Regions from separate parts of the Homo sapiens genome. Here region 1 is linked to region 2. Evidence: promoter capture Hi-C in 16 types of primary human blood cells and fetal thymus (Javierre and others, 2016). All regions are on one chromosome and are shown on one strand. The core of a region is centred on a gene start or on the middle of the fragment in contact, and the rest is flanking DNA. Distances in the headings are between cores, read along the strand shown.

What was found. Contacts are between HindIII fragments. The CHiCAGO score rates a contact against its expected background, and 5 or more counts as called.
Region 1: a contact is called between the fragment with the promoter of MEX3D here and the fragment with the promoter of ONECUT3 in region 2, in 2 of 17 cell types (total B cells and erythroblasts). The highest score is 7.6, in total B cells.

Annotation. Positions count from the first base shown.
Region 1 is chr19:1,564,224-1,570,846 of GRCh38, forward strand. It overlaps MEX3D (mex-3 RNA binding family member D), which reads right to left and starts at 4,102. Exons shown (of 2, transcript NM_203304.4): 1 at 3,241-4,102. The coding sequence starts at 3,835. It also overlaps the pseudogene RN7SL477P. RefSeq lists silencers at 4,102-4,291, 4,332-4,381. The HindIII fragment of the contact is 12,069 bases long and covers 1-6,623 here.
Region 2 is chr19:1,748,867-1,755,822 of GRCh38, forward strand. It overlaps ONECUT3 (one cut homeobox 3), which reads left to right and starts at 4,640. Exons shown (of 2, transcript NM_001080488.2): 1 at 4,640-5,988. The coding sequence starts at 4,797. RefSeq lists an enhancer at 1-43. The HindIII fragment of the contact is 18,116 bases long and covers 1,558-6,956 here.

The DNA.
Region 1 (6,623 bases), core at 2,852-5,351, 190 kb before region 2:
TAGACCCTCAATAAAGATCTAGCCAATGGCCAGGCGCAGTGGCTCACACCTGTAGTCCCAGCACTCTGGGAGGCTGAGGTGGGTGGATCACCTGAGGTCAGGAGTGTGAGACCAGCCTGGCCAACATGGCGAAACCCCGTCTCTACTGAAAATACAAAAACCAGCTGGGCATAGTGGCACGTGCCTGTAATCCCACATACTAGGGGGGCTGAGGCAGGAGGATCGCTTGAACCTGGGAGGTGGAGCTTGCAGTGAACCGGGATCGTGCCATTGCACTCCAGCCTGGGCAACAGAGCGAGACTCCATCCCAAAAAAAAAAAAAAAAAAAGATATAGCAAATGAATGAACTGGAGCCTCCAGCAGATGGGTGGGAACTCAGAGGGTTTGAATGACCACAGTCTGCCCAGAAAGCACTCGGACCCCCTCTAGGATCAAGAGAACTGAAGCTCAGAGAACAGCACGTAGCTACTGGGGAGAGGGCTGGTGCCAGGCCTGTGTGACTCTTGTCTAGGTGGGGAGGCCGGACAGGTGCACCCTTCCTGGCCTCCAGGGAAGGGGTAACCTTGGAGCTTGGGTTTGACAGAGAAGCATGAGAAGTTCAGAGAGCCCCAGGGTGGAGAGGAAGGTGAGTAAAGGGGCAGGGCCGGGGCACAAAGGACATTGAAAGGTATGCTTGAGAACGGGGTGGGTGGGAGAAGCTGGGAGCCACAGATGGTTCTACAGTGTGGAAGAAGTACAGACTACCGAAGCTGTGGAAGACGTAAGGACTACTGAAGCTGCCAACCTGTCCTGGCATCCACAGTTGCATCCCTGGCAACGCGCACTCCACTTATGGGGTGGCCACTGTGTGTGACCTGGAGCTGGGATTAAAACCAGCAACTTGGGTCCAGGCATAGTGGCTCACACCTGTAGGAACCCCAGCACTTTGGGTGGCTGAGGATCGCTTGAGGCCAGGAGTTCAAGACCAGCCTGAGCAACAGAGCAAGACCCTGTCTCTACAAGAAAAACTTTATAATAAAAACAAATAAATAAAACTGGCCGTGCGCAGTGGCTCACGCCTGTAATCTCAGCACTTTGGGAGGTGGAGGTGGGCGGATCACTTGAGGTCGGGAGTTCGAGACCAGCCTGGACAACATGGTGAAACCCCGTCTCTACTAAAAATACAAAAATCAGCTGAGCGTGGTGGCTCACACTTGTAATCCCAGCTACTCAGGAGGCTGAGGCAGGAGAACTGCTTGAAACCAGAAGGCGGAGTTTGCAGTGAGCCCAGATCACGTCACTGCACTCCAGCCTGGGCGACAGAGCGAAACTCCGTCTCATAAATAAATAAATAAAACCAGCATCTTGCCCCAGAATCCTCTACCCTAATGGAGGTGAGACGTCCGCACATCACAGAGAGGGGCCGTCATCTGCGCAGGGCCACGGCGGCCTGCAGGACAAGCAATCAGGGCCCACTCTACCCCCGACCCCCACTGTACCCCAGGGCCTGCCTTGCTGACGGCCACCAGCAAGAGCCCAGTAAGTGGGTGCAGAACGCACAGGCCAGAGGTGGGGGCTGAGCCTGGTGCCCACAGACTCCATTTCCCATGGACCTGCCCCTAGAGAATTCCCACCCTGAGGCCACAGGTCTAGAAGCTCTCAGCCTGACGCTGATTCCTGCCAGCTCCCCATGTGGCCATAGCCTCGCTCAAAGGCCCTTGGGTGCCAGGACAAGCGCGTTCACAAAGAACACAGCCACAGCCTCCACCACCTGGAGGCTCAGGCTCGTGCCTTTGGTCACTTGGTCCCCAGGCCTCGGCTTGGACGCCTGTCTCCACAGGCTCCCAGACACTCCGCACAGGGCAGCTGTCCCGTTCTAGGCCCTGGGTATGGGACATGGAGGCCGGGTGGAAGGCCTCAATGGGGAGGCAGTAACAGGATGGTAGGGCGCCCTCCTGCCAGGGGGTCCCACCAAGGGCAGCCAGCAGGACTGAGACAGAACCCAGTCCCTCCCCACCCACCACTCCAGAGCATGCTTCCTGGGGCCAGCACCATGCCTGACCCTCCGTGGGTCCCCACATGAGCTGGACAAATGAACGACCAAAAGACAGGAGGCTGTGGTGCCCCACCCACCTGGACCGAGGGAAAGGGCGGAGGGGAGGGCGCCCTGGTGGTCCCCCGCCTGAGGCCAGGGCCATAGATGACCTTGCAATCCCAGCCCCCCACACCTTTCTCTGGCCTGGATTCCCGAGGGCCCCGGGGAGGCAGGGACCCCCAGCCCAAGTGTCCTGCGGCCCCACCACCAGCCCCGCCAAGGCCCCACCCCAAGTTCTAGAACCTGGCTGATCACTGGCGGTCAGCGGGGACCCAGGAGCGGGGAGGGGTGGCGGGAAGGCAGGAGAAAGTTGAGGGAGGCAGGCGGGCGGGTGGCTAACGGGGTGGTGGGTGTGAGCTGGGCCAGGCACTGCCCACCACCCGCCCGCCCGCCCCGCAGCTCGGGGGCCAATGAGCAGCGGCCGGCCTGATGTCACCCTGCAAATCTCAGCCTCGCTCTCTAACAAAGAGAACAATGGGGCGGCCAGAGGGAAGCTCCGACGATGCCACCGCTGGACCCCACACCCGGGGCCTGCCGCCCGCCGGCCTGCCCAGCAGGCTGCACCCCAGAAGTGGCTTTGACAGCCGGTCCTTCCCCAGGCCCCGAAATCCCTGACTCGGGGCCAGAGAGTGGAGCAGGGACCCTCTCCTGCCCGGTCCCGTCCCCACCCCAGTCAGGGCCCCAGGCTGGAGACTGAGACGTGCGCTCTTTGTACTGTCAGCCTTCTCTCCCGGTCCTGCAGGCGGCCCCCCTAAGCCACCCCTAAACCTGCGCTTGCCCCGCCCCGCCGCCTGTGCTGGGTGTGGGGCGCCCCCCGCCCGGCCGGAGCCCCGGGCCCTCGAGCCCCTCTCTGGGGTGCCCCTGCGGGCGGCCGAGGGCCTGGGCTGCGGCGCGGCTCCCCGGAGCCTTTCCGGGCTGGAGGCGGCCCAGACAAAGGCGGCGGCGGGGCCGGAGCGCGCAGGGGAGGAGCGCGGGCTGCGCCCAACTTTCTCCCGCGGCGGCTGCAGGACAAAGGCGCAAAGGCAGCGGCCGAGGCCGGAGCCCACGCGGGGCGTGTCCGGTGCGGGGCGTCCGGCGCGGGCTGGGCTGGGCTCGGGCGACCCCCTTCCCCGGGGCGGACGGTGCGGGGACCCCCAGGACAGCAACCCCCGACGAGGGCCACTCACCCTGGCGACCCACGATCTCGGCGACGTGCTCGGAGCTGGGCACCGGGACGCACTCGGTCATGTTGACGCTTTTCTTGCGGCTGCCGATCACGCTCATCTGGTCGGCCAGCAGCGTCGGGGGCCCCAGGGCCGCGGGGTGGGGCGCGAAGCCCGCGAACACGTCGGGGGGCGACGGCCGGGGCGGCGGCGGCGGCGGGGGACTCGCGTTGGGGTCCAGCAGCGGCAGCGACCCGGGGGCCACGGCGGGGGCCAGGGTCGGGGGCGCGCCGGCCTCAGGTCCGTCGGGGGGCACAGGCTCCGGAGCCGCCCCGCCGTCCGCGCCCCCCGCCGCCGCTGCGCCGTCCCCGGCCGCCCCCTCCTCGTCCGTGTCGCCAGCGCCCCCCAGCCCGAGCGCCGACAGCTGGTCCAGCGCCAGGCGGAGCGCGGCGGCCGCGTCGTCGGGTTCGGGCGGCGGCCGGGGCGCGGGCGCGGCCTCCTGGGCGCCCTCGGGCGGGGGCGCAGGTCCGGGTCCGGGGTCCTCCCCCGCCGCCCCCACGCCGCCGCCGCCGCCGCCCCCGCCCCCGCCGCCGTCGGGCTGGCCGAGCGAGCTGGGCATGGCGGGAGCTAGCGCTGGGGCCCGCGCTCCTGCCGCCCGCGCCGCCGCCGCCGCCCGCGCCGCCCTCCGCCTCTGCGAGCTGGGCCGCCGGCCGCCTGCATCCAGCGGCGGGGGCGGGCACGGGGGGCCGGGCGGGCGGGGCGGCGGCGGCGCGGGGCTGCTCGGGGCCGGGCCGGGCCGGGCCGGGCGGCGGCAGCGACTCTGGCTGCGGCTCGGCGGCGGCGGCGACGGCGGCGGCGGCTCCTCGGCGGCCGAGGCGGCGGCGGCGGCGCGGGACGCTCCTTCCCTCCCGCCGCCTCCCGCGGCCCCGCCCCGGCCCCGCCCCCGCGACGTCACGCCGCGGCCCAACAATGGGCGGCCCCCAGGGCGCAGGCGCGCGGGGCGGGGCCGGGGCGGGGCCGGCGCCGGGCACGTGGTCCAGGCCCCGCCTCCGCCCGGCGCTCGGGCGGGAACCCGGGCGCATCCGCACGTGCGGGCGCTGCTGCAGGTGTGTGCGGCTCAGCCCCTGCCTGGACAGCGCTCCCTCCCCAAGCCTGAGAGTCCCTGCCTCGCGCGCCCCAGGGCCCGAGGTCCCGCTCCCCAATTTCCCCTAGAGATCCGGGTCGCCCCCAAGCGAGGTCTCTTGCTCCACGCCCGCTTCCTTGTGCCAGGGACCCCCACCTCCCTGCATAAAGGCGTGGGGTCCTCTCCAAGTCCCCCTCGCGATCCCACTGGACTTCGAAGTCAGGCTCCTGCCCGCCCACCGCCTCTGTGCCAGGGTCCAACCCCCGCCCCACGGTGCACCCCCCAGGGCCTGGGGTCCCAGTCCCCAAGTACCCCTTGCTATCAGGTGGGCTTTAGGGTCAGGCCCCTGCCCCACCCCCAGCCTCTGTGCCAGGGACAGCTCCACAATCATGCACACCCCAGGGCCTGAGGTCCCTCTCCCCTAGTCTCTCCTAGCTCCCCTCTGGCTGGCTCCCGGCTTTGGGATCAGGCCACCTCCTCCACGCCACCTCCTCCGCCCCACCCAAGGCCACAGACCCGGTCTCTGTGCCCCCAGCCAGAGACCTCTCTACCACAGTGGTGCTTCCATGGCGAGGGCAGGCTCACACCAGCCAGAACCCTCCATGTGGAGCCCCACCCTCTTCTGGGGTGCCTTTCCCCGCAACGGGCGTTGTCCACCTCTAAAGCCACCCTTGCCGGGCGCGGTGGCTCATGCCTGTCATCCCAGCAGTTTGGGAGGCCGAGGCGGGTGGATCACGAGGTCAGGAGTTAGAGACCAGCCTGGCCAACATGGTGAAACCCCCGACTCTACTAAAAATACAAAAATTAGCCAGGCGTGGTGGCGCGCACCTGTAATCCCAGCTACTCAGGAAGCTGAGGCAGGATAATTGCTTGAACCCTGGAGGTGGTGGTTGCAGTGAGTCGAGATTGCACCACTGCACTCCAGCCTGGTTGACAGAGCAAGACTCCTCTCAAAAAAAAAAAAAAAAAAAAAAAATAGCCGCTTTCCCAGCGGCTCTTCCTCCAGCTGTCCTTCGGGGCCTTCCTTGCACCTGTGGGGTTTTTTGTGATAAACCTGTCTGGCTGGGTCTACCTGCCCCCCTCTTCTACCAGACCTGTCCCTGGCTGGCTGTGCAAACTTGGACCGAAGGCAGGGCTCTCTGGGCAGGAGTGGGGCAGCCTGCCCCTTTGCCTAGCAAGGCTTCTCCTCTGTCCCCTCCCCCCGCCTCACACACCCTGGGTCCCCCTCAGCCACTCTTCTAGTCCCTCAGCCACAGCCACCCACTGCTGGGCCCTTCACTTTTGGTGGCTTCTCTGCCCACTTCTTCCAGGCAGGCAGGGTCAGGATCCCCCTGCCTGGAGCCCTTCCCCACCCAAAATCTCTCTCCTGACCCCAGGCTGCATCCAGCCCCACTTCCCCTCCTGGGGTCCTGGACTTCTCTTTCGTGCACGCCCATGCTTGGAATTGTTTTTCTATCTCTCTTTCTTTCTCTCTTTCTTTTTTTCTCTTTCTTTCCTTTTTTTCTTTCTTTCTTCCTTTCTTTCTTTTCTTTTTCTTTCTTTCTCTTTCCTTTCTTTCTCTTTTTTCTTTTCCTTTTCTTTCTTTCCTTTTTTTCTTTCTCTTCCTTTTCTTTTTTCTGTCTTTCTTTCCTTCTTTCTTTTCTTTCTTCTCCTTCCTTCCTTGCTTCCTTCCTTTTCTTTCATCCTTTATTTCGTTCTTCATTTCTTCTTTTCTCTCCCTTCCTTCCTTCCTTCCTTCTTTCTTTCTTTTTTTTTTTTTAGACGGAGTCTCGCTCTGTCACCCAGGTTGGAGTGCAGTGGTGCAGTCTTGGCTCACTGCAAGCTCCGCCTCTGGGTTCACGCCATTCTCCTGTCTCAGCCTCCCGAGTGGCTGGGACTACAGGTGCCTGACGCCACACCCAGCTAATTTTTTGTATTTTTTGTAGAGACAGGGTTTCACCGTATCAACCAGGATTCTCCCTTCCTTCTCTGCTCCCCTCCCCTCTCCTCTCCTTTCCTTTTCTTTCTTTTTCGGACAGAGTCTTGCTCTGTTGCCCAGGCTGGGGTGCAGTGGCTATTCACAGGTGTGACCCCAGGACAGATCAGCATGAGAGCTTTGACCAGCTCCGTCTCTGACTTGGGTAGGTTCAGCCCTCCTTAGGCAACCTGGTGGTCCTCCCAGTCCAGGGAGGTCATCATATTAATGTAGACGCTGGATCAGCATAGCTCACTACAGCTCAGAACTCCCGAGCTCAAGCAATCCTCCCGCCTCAGCCTCCTGAGTAGCTGGGACCACAGGTGTGCA
Region 2 (6,956 bases), core at 3,390-5,889:
CTCCGGAGCGCGGCGCCCAACGCGGGTTTCGTTGCGTCGGGGAAGTCCGTGGCCTGCAGCGTCCAGTCCCCAGGCTGTCAGCCGAGCCCTGGAGTGGGGCGTTCTCCAGGCCCCCAACCCCTGATCCAGGCCGTTCCCCTCCCGCGCACCCTCCGGCGGGGGCTGCAGCCCGCGCCCCTCGCCGCCAAGCCCCATTTTCCCACAGTGCAAACTGCAGCAAACGAACTGGTTTTCTCCTGAGCGCACGCTGCGGGGAGACGATTCCAACGGCGTCCAGTGAGGAGGGGCCCAGGCCTGCGAGACGGGGCGCGTTCCTGTCCCCAGACCCCTCCGGCTGCGCCTCAACCCCCAGCCCGGCTCTCTGACCTGCATCGGTCGGGCCGGGCACAGAGGAGGCAAAGCAGGCGGAGGCCGCGAGAGGAGAGCAGCCTGACCTCCCGCCTGAGCCCGGACCCTTCCCCTCGGGCACCCTCGGACGCCCCCGCCCCAGCGTGTTACTTTCTAGATGGGGAAACTGAGGCGCGGCCAGGGCGATGCGGCGGAAGTCCCGCGCCCGGCCGTCTCCCGCGCCTGCCAGACAGAGCCCCGAGAAGAGGGCATAGAATTCCCTCCTCTAATTGTGTCCCAGAACTCTGGGACGACGGAGGCCAAGCTGCTGAGGGAGGGGACGAGGACGCGGGGCCCCAGGGACCAACCCCTCCGCTCCCCGGCCAGCCGCGGCCGCCCAGCCTCGGTGCCCCGGCGCAAACAAGCGCGGTGTTTGCCGAGCGCGAGGCGGGCGGCGCGGCCCGAGAGCGATGAGGATTCGATGGAGCCGCTCGCCGCGGCGGGGGCAACGGAGCCCGGGCGGGCGCGGGGATCGATCGGGCACAGCTGTCGCCTAAGAGCCCGCGGGAGCATCCACCCGCGGGCCAGAGCTGCCCGGGCGCCCCGCAACTGCGGGCAGGAAATCCGGGACGTCGGGCCCGCCAGGGGCGAAACCCCAAAGTCGCGACACCCGGGGTGGGGAGGTCAGGACGTCCCCACGGCCAACGTGGAACCTTCGGGAGCCGCGCGCTCAGCCTCGCCGGGACCCCCGCCAGGCCGTAAAAGCCCAGAGTCTCCCCCCAAATCTAAATAAAATCCCCAGACCCCGCCCGAACGAAGGCGGCTGGAGTCCAGAGGGAGAACTCCTGCCACACACTAGGCACCGGCGGCCGGGATTTGGGGCGCCCGCAGGTTTCGGGGGCCGGGAGTGGGAGCAGAGCGGATCTAGGGCTGCGGCTGGGCTTGGGTGGGGCGCGCATTCATTGCCATCGTTTAGTAAAACCTCGCTTTAATAAAAGCAGGGAGGGGTGCGCAGAGCCCGGACACTTTCATTTCGGTGGGAGACAAATCGAATCAGAAAGTCAGTTGGGGGCGCACTGTGCAGGGTTCTGGGGGAGCCCCAGGAAAGGAAAACTTGAGGTATCTGACTCTGCCTTTGATATTTTTAGCTGCAATGGGAGAGTCAATAACAACAGGGAAGGTGGTGTGTCCAAAAATGGGGGAGGTGTGGAGGATTAAAGAGGGGGTTCAAGCTTAGGGGGTCCGTTTAGGGAGTTTGAAGCCGTGGAGAGTGCGCACCCCTGGGGCATGGGTGGAGGCCCCCAGTCCTCCCCTCCACCCGCGGGACTCTCCAAGCCCTGAGGTTGGCAGGACCAGAGGCTGCCCTTTTTGACTCCTCCCAGACGCAGGCCAGGCACAGAGAGGGTGAGCGTTGGTCTGGGGCAGCCCAGCACCTGCTGAGGTCCCCCTCCCCAACTCCCAGACACAGACTCGGGCTCTGGGAGTCAAACTTTCATCTTCCTGGAGGGGATACTGAGGCCAGAGAGCTTCCTCGAGGTGGCTGAGGTCCCTGTGGGGTGGGGAAGGGGGACTTCTTGTCCCGATCCAGCCCACCCCTCCCCCTGCCCACAATTTGCCTAATGACCCAGGATCGATCTGGGCCTGGGCAGCCAGCCTACCCGGTGGCCGGCTCAATTCTATTTTACTAATTACTAAAAGGCTGCTGCTGGTGGGGAGAAGCAAGCTGGGGGCTCCAGGGGGCCACAGTCCCTCTCTTGGGGCCAGCAAAATTCTGTTCAATCTCTCAACGGGACCACAGCCTCTACAAGGAGTGAGATCCCCATCCCTGGGGGAGTCCAAGTGTCCATCAGCCGAAGGGAGGGGTGAGGGGCTTCGCAGACCTGGATAGGGTTAGGTCCACCAGGCTGGGCTGCCCCTTCCAAGTCTAGGGAGCTTTGGAAGGGGTCTGTGGCCACCTTAGCGTGTCCTGAGGCAGCAGAGGGGAGAGGCCCTCTTCCTCTCGGAGTCCCTGACCCTCGTCTTCTCTTTCAAAATGGATGCTTTCCCTGCTAGAAAAGCCACACACGCTTGCTATTAAAATGAACACGATCATCAAGCTGTAAAAAATATATTTAAAAGGAAGCCTGCAAAATCCCAGCTCCCTAGGAGCTCCCCCACATTGGCATTTGGGGGAACTTCCTTCCACCTTGTTATCCTCCCACCCGTAGAGACCCCCAGCCCCCACCTGGTCTGCGCTTCTTGAGCCTGGGATGCTAGCGTTTTATGGCGGCTGATTGATTTTTAGATCTCACGATTATTTTTAATTATCTGTGATTGTTGGAGGGTGAGAATGAGGAGCGCAGGCTGGGGCTCTGTGCAGCCACATCCCCCCCGCCGAGATTCAGCATCTGCACGGGGAGTGGGGTACGCGACTGTTCGGACCTGCCCCTCTCTTCCCACCTGGAAGATGGGTGTAATTATGTAAACTCCAGAAATTATACCTGAACCCTGGAACTGGAAAGTTTAGGGACCGACACTTCAGGGGGCAGGAGTTAGCACTTGGGCAGATGTAGGAATGAAGGGGGGAACTCTAGGGCCACCACCCCCCCACCTTGGGCCAGAGACACCCGGAAAAATTGTGATTTGACTTCCCCCTCTCTGGGGCTGAGAGAGGAGAGTATGCCTGGTAAATAACAGGCACTTACTAAATGCCGAGCCCTAAGCAGCGAGTACTAACAGGGGTCCCCTTCAGCCCTATCCCTCCCCAGGACTTGGATCAGGCCACCTCAGGCTGGGGGCCCAGATCATTCAGGCCCCCTCTCTCTCTGGCTGTTGTGGTCAGCATAGACTCACCTCCGGCTCCCAGCTGGGCAGGCTGGAGGGCACCCCCTCCCACACCAGAGAAGGGGAAACTGAGGCACAGAAAGGGCCCTATTCCAGAGCCAACCTAGTCTTGGTTCAGAAAATCGCATCTCCAATGTGTAGCCACGTCTACAGGGGCCAGGAAATCTGGATGCAGGTGCAAAGCTGGGGCCGGGGTTTGCCCAGAAGGTTTGCACCAAAGGGGAAGTGACAGCCTGACTGTGTCCTCCCCTCTTCCTTCAGCTTTGAGCCCTGATGCAACCCTCTGAGATGGGGGTAACTGGGGGCTCCCGCGAACCGACTGCCTGACCCATCCCCTTCCTCTTCTAGAAAGTGCACAAGCGTTACCCCGGGGGTGGGGGGGGCAGAGGCAACGGGGAAGCAGGAAGGGGCTGAGGCTGGTTTTGGACTCTGCACCGTAGCCTCTGGCCTACAAGACAGAGCATCCTCTAGATTCTGGTCTGGCCCCTCCAGATCCGCAGCCCTGACCTTACCCCACTGGCGGGATCTAGTCCCCTGGGGGTCTCTCTGATTATAGGAGCCCTTCCCCCATCTATCCCAGTTCCCAGGGGCCCCTGGGGCTCACCTGTCTCCAGGTGCTGAGAAAAAGGAGACCCCTGCCTCCCCCCACATTGAAGAGAAGCCCCAGGGACAAAGAGGAGTTTGCACCAGCGACGTCTCAGAAGACAGGGGATCCAGCCTCAGCCTCCGTGGGCTGGAGGGTGACAGGGGCTCTTAGTGGTCACCCCCAGGCTCCAGTGCCTCCAGCGGCCGCACTGTAAAAAGGCCCTGCAATTAGAAGGGGCCTTTGGCAACCCCGAGGCCGGGCAGCCCATTGTACAGTTGGGGAAACGGAGGCCCAGGTGCCCACACATGGGCAGAGGCTGACCCCTGGGGCGCACGGAGGCCCTGACCTAGCCTTAGGACCTCCCTTTTCCCCCACTTCCTCCACAAAGAGGTTGTGGGAAGGGGGCTGTGACTCCGTAGGTGTGAGTGGGAGTCGGGGGAAGCTGAGCTTGCAGTGGGGATCTAGCTCCTGGGGGTCTGTAGGGAACGGGGGGGGGGGGGGACACGTACATTACAGGCGACCGTCCAGCCACACTCCCAGAAACTCCCTGGAGATGGACTTGGGGGTGCCAGGCAGAAAGCCACATCTGGGACTCTGGAGAGAATCACACAGAGACGCGAAATCGGAGACTCTGGGTCGAGGCCCCCAGCCCCACCTGGGCAGAGTCTGTCCTCGGACCCCCGCCCGCTGTCCCCCGGGTACGGCCTGCCCCAGCGGGCGCGGGCGGGCGCAGTGGCCAGGGACGCCGAAGCCCCAAGTCTGGCCGACTTCGGCCTGCTTGGTGCTCGAGTGGGGCCGGGGCGGGCGGAGAGCGAGGCTGCGGGAGGCAGCGGTGGCAGGAGCGGGTGGGCGGGGGCGCTGACGTCAGACCCGGGCCCGGGCGCCGGCGGCCGCTCCCCTGCCACATCCTGGTGGCCGCGCTCGCAGCCGGGCCGGGCCGTGCGCCGCGCAGCCTGGCAGCCTCGCGCGCAGCCACCGGGGAGCGGGCGGGAGTCATGCAGCGGCCTTGAGCACTAGGGGCCGGCGCTGAGGAGCGCGCGCGGCGGGAGGGCAGCCGAGCATGGAGCTGAGCCTGGAGAGCCTGGGGGGCCTGCACAGCGTGGCCCACGCGCAGGCGGGCGAGCTGCTGAGCCCGGGCCACGCGCGCTCGGCGGCGGCGCAGCACCGCGGCCTGGTGGCGCCCGGGCGCCCGGGCCTGGTGGCCGGCATGGCGAGCCTGCTGGACGGCGGCGGCGGCGGCGGCGGTGGGGGCGCCGGGGGCGCGGGCGGCGCGGGCAGCGCGGGCGGCGGCGCGGACTTCCGCGGGGAACTGGCGGGCCCGCTGCACCCGGCAATGGGCATGGCCTGCGAGGCGCCGGGCCTGGGCGGCACCTACACGACGCTCACGCCCCTGCAGCACCTGCCGCCGCTCGCGGCCGTGGCCGACAAGTTCCACCAGCACGCGGCGGCCGCGGCCGTGGCCGGGGCGCACGGCGGCCATCCCCACGCGCACCCGCACCCGGCGGCCGCGCCGCCCCCGCCACCCCCGCCGCAGCGTCTGGCGGCCAGCGTGAGCGGCAGCTTCACCCTCATGCGCGACGAGCGGGCGGCGCTCGCCTCCGTGGGCCACCTCTACGGACCCTACGGCAAGGAGCTGCCCGCCATGGGGTCGCCGCTGTCGCCGCTGCCCAACGCGCTGCCGCCCGCGCTGCACGGCGCCCCGCAGCCCCCGCCGCCGCCACCACCCCCGCCGCTGGCCGCCTACGGCCCGCCAGGCCACCTGGCTGGGGACAAGCTGCTGCCGCCCGCCGCCTTCGAGCCGCACGCCGCGCTGCTGGGACGCGCGGAGGACGCACTGGCCCGCGGGCTGCCCGGAGGCGGCGGCGGCACAGGCAGCGGCGGAGCGGGCAGCGGGAGCGCCGCGGGGCTGCTGGCGCCGCTGGGCGGGCTGGCGGCGGCCGGGGCGCACGGGCCGCACGGGGGAGGCGGCGGCCCCGGCGGGAGCGGCGGCGGCCCCAGCGCGGGCGCAGCGGCCGAGGAGATCAACACCAAGGAGGTGGCGCAGCGCATCACGGCGGAGCTGAAGCGCTACAGCATCCCGCAGGCAATCTTCGCGCAGCGGATCCTGTGTCGCTCTCAGGGCACGCTCTCCGACCTGCTGCGCAACCCCAAGCCGTGGAGCAAGCTCAAATCCGGCCGCGAGACCTTCCGCAGGATGTGGAAGTGGCTGCAGGAGCCAGAGTTCCAGCGCATGTCGGCGCTGCGCTTGGCAGGTAGGAGCGTGGCGCGCAGGGCCAGACCCTGGGGGCGCCGGCTCTGGACTCCCGAGCACCTAGCGGGGCGGCGGCCGATGCCCGGGGCCAGCGCCCCAAGCCCCGCCCGTGCGCCCCGGCAGCCCGGGACCCCCTATCAGGAAGCTAGACCGCGATCCGCGCCGCTGCCCGTTTGTACCGTTGCCAAAAGGGAGAAAGGGATTGTGCCGCCTCCCCGCCCCCCGGTCGCCGCTTCTGCCCCTTTCGGGAGCGCGTAGGGGTTCTCTAGTCCTTGTTAGACTGCTGGGAGGCTCCGAGCCTCTCCCCAAGCAGCCCTCAGGGAAGCTCATTGTGTGTGTGCGTGTGTGTGTGTGAGCGCGCGCCTGTTGGGGGGAGCTGTGTCCCCGAACGAGCTGCTGTTGTCGGCTAAGGTGCCACTCCCCTCCTCCAGAGTGGGTGGAGAGGGGCTGTTGAGCCCCCAGCCCCGGGCCACAGAGCTCCGAGACGTTGCGGCGGGCGCCTGCAGCTCAGCAGCAGAGGCCGAGCCCGCGCTCATCCCCCCACCTGCCCCAGCGCGCGCTTCTTTGTAGTTCGGCCCCGCGATCGATACCCCCTCCCTCTCCCCTCCGGCCGCTGGCAAAGGTCACCCGAGAATGGCGGGGGAGGGGCGGCCCCGGGGACCCTCGGCCCGCGCCGCCCGGAGGCCTTCACACCCCGACCCGGCGCCCGCCCCGCGCAGTTTGGTCGTGGCTCGGGTGCGCGCGCCCCTGCCCGCCTGGCTTTGGGGTTTTGTGTCTCTCATGTCCACTTCTCTCCTCTCTCGGTCGGAACACACTGGTATCTCTATGTTTTTCTCTTGCTCTCCGTTTTGCTCTTGTTCCTGCTCATTATCTCTTCTCCCTGTCGGTCTCTCCGCCTCTGTCTCTGTCTCATACTCAGCCACCGGCCCCCTGGGGACCCTCCTCCCTCCTCCCTCCCAGCTGACAACA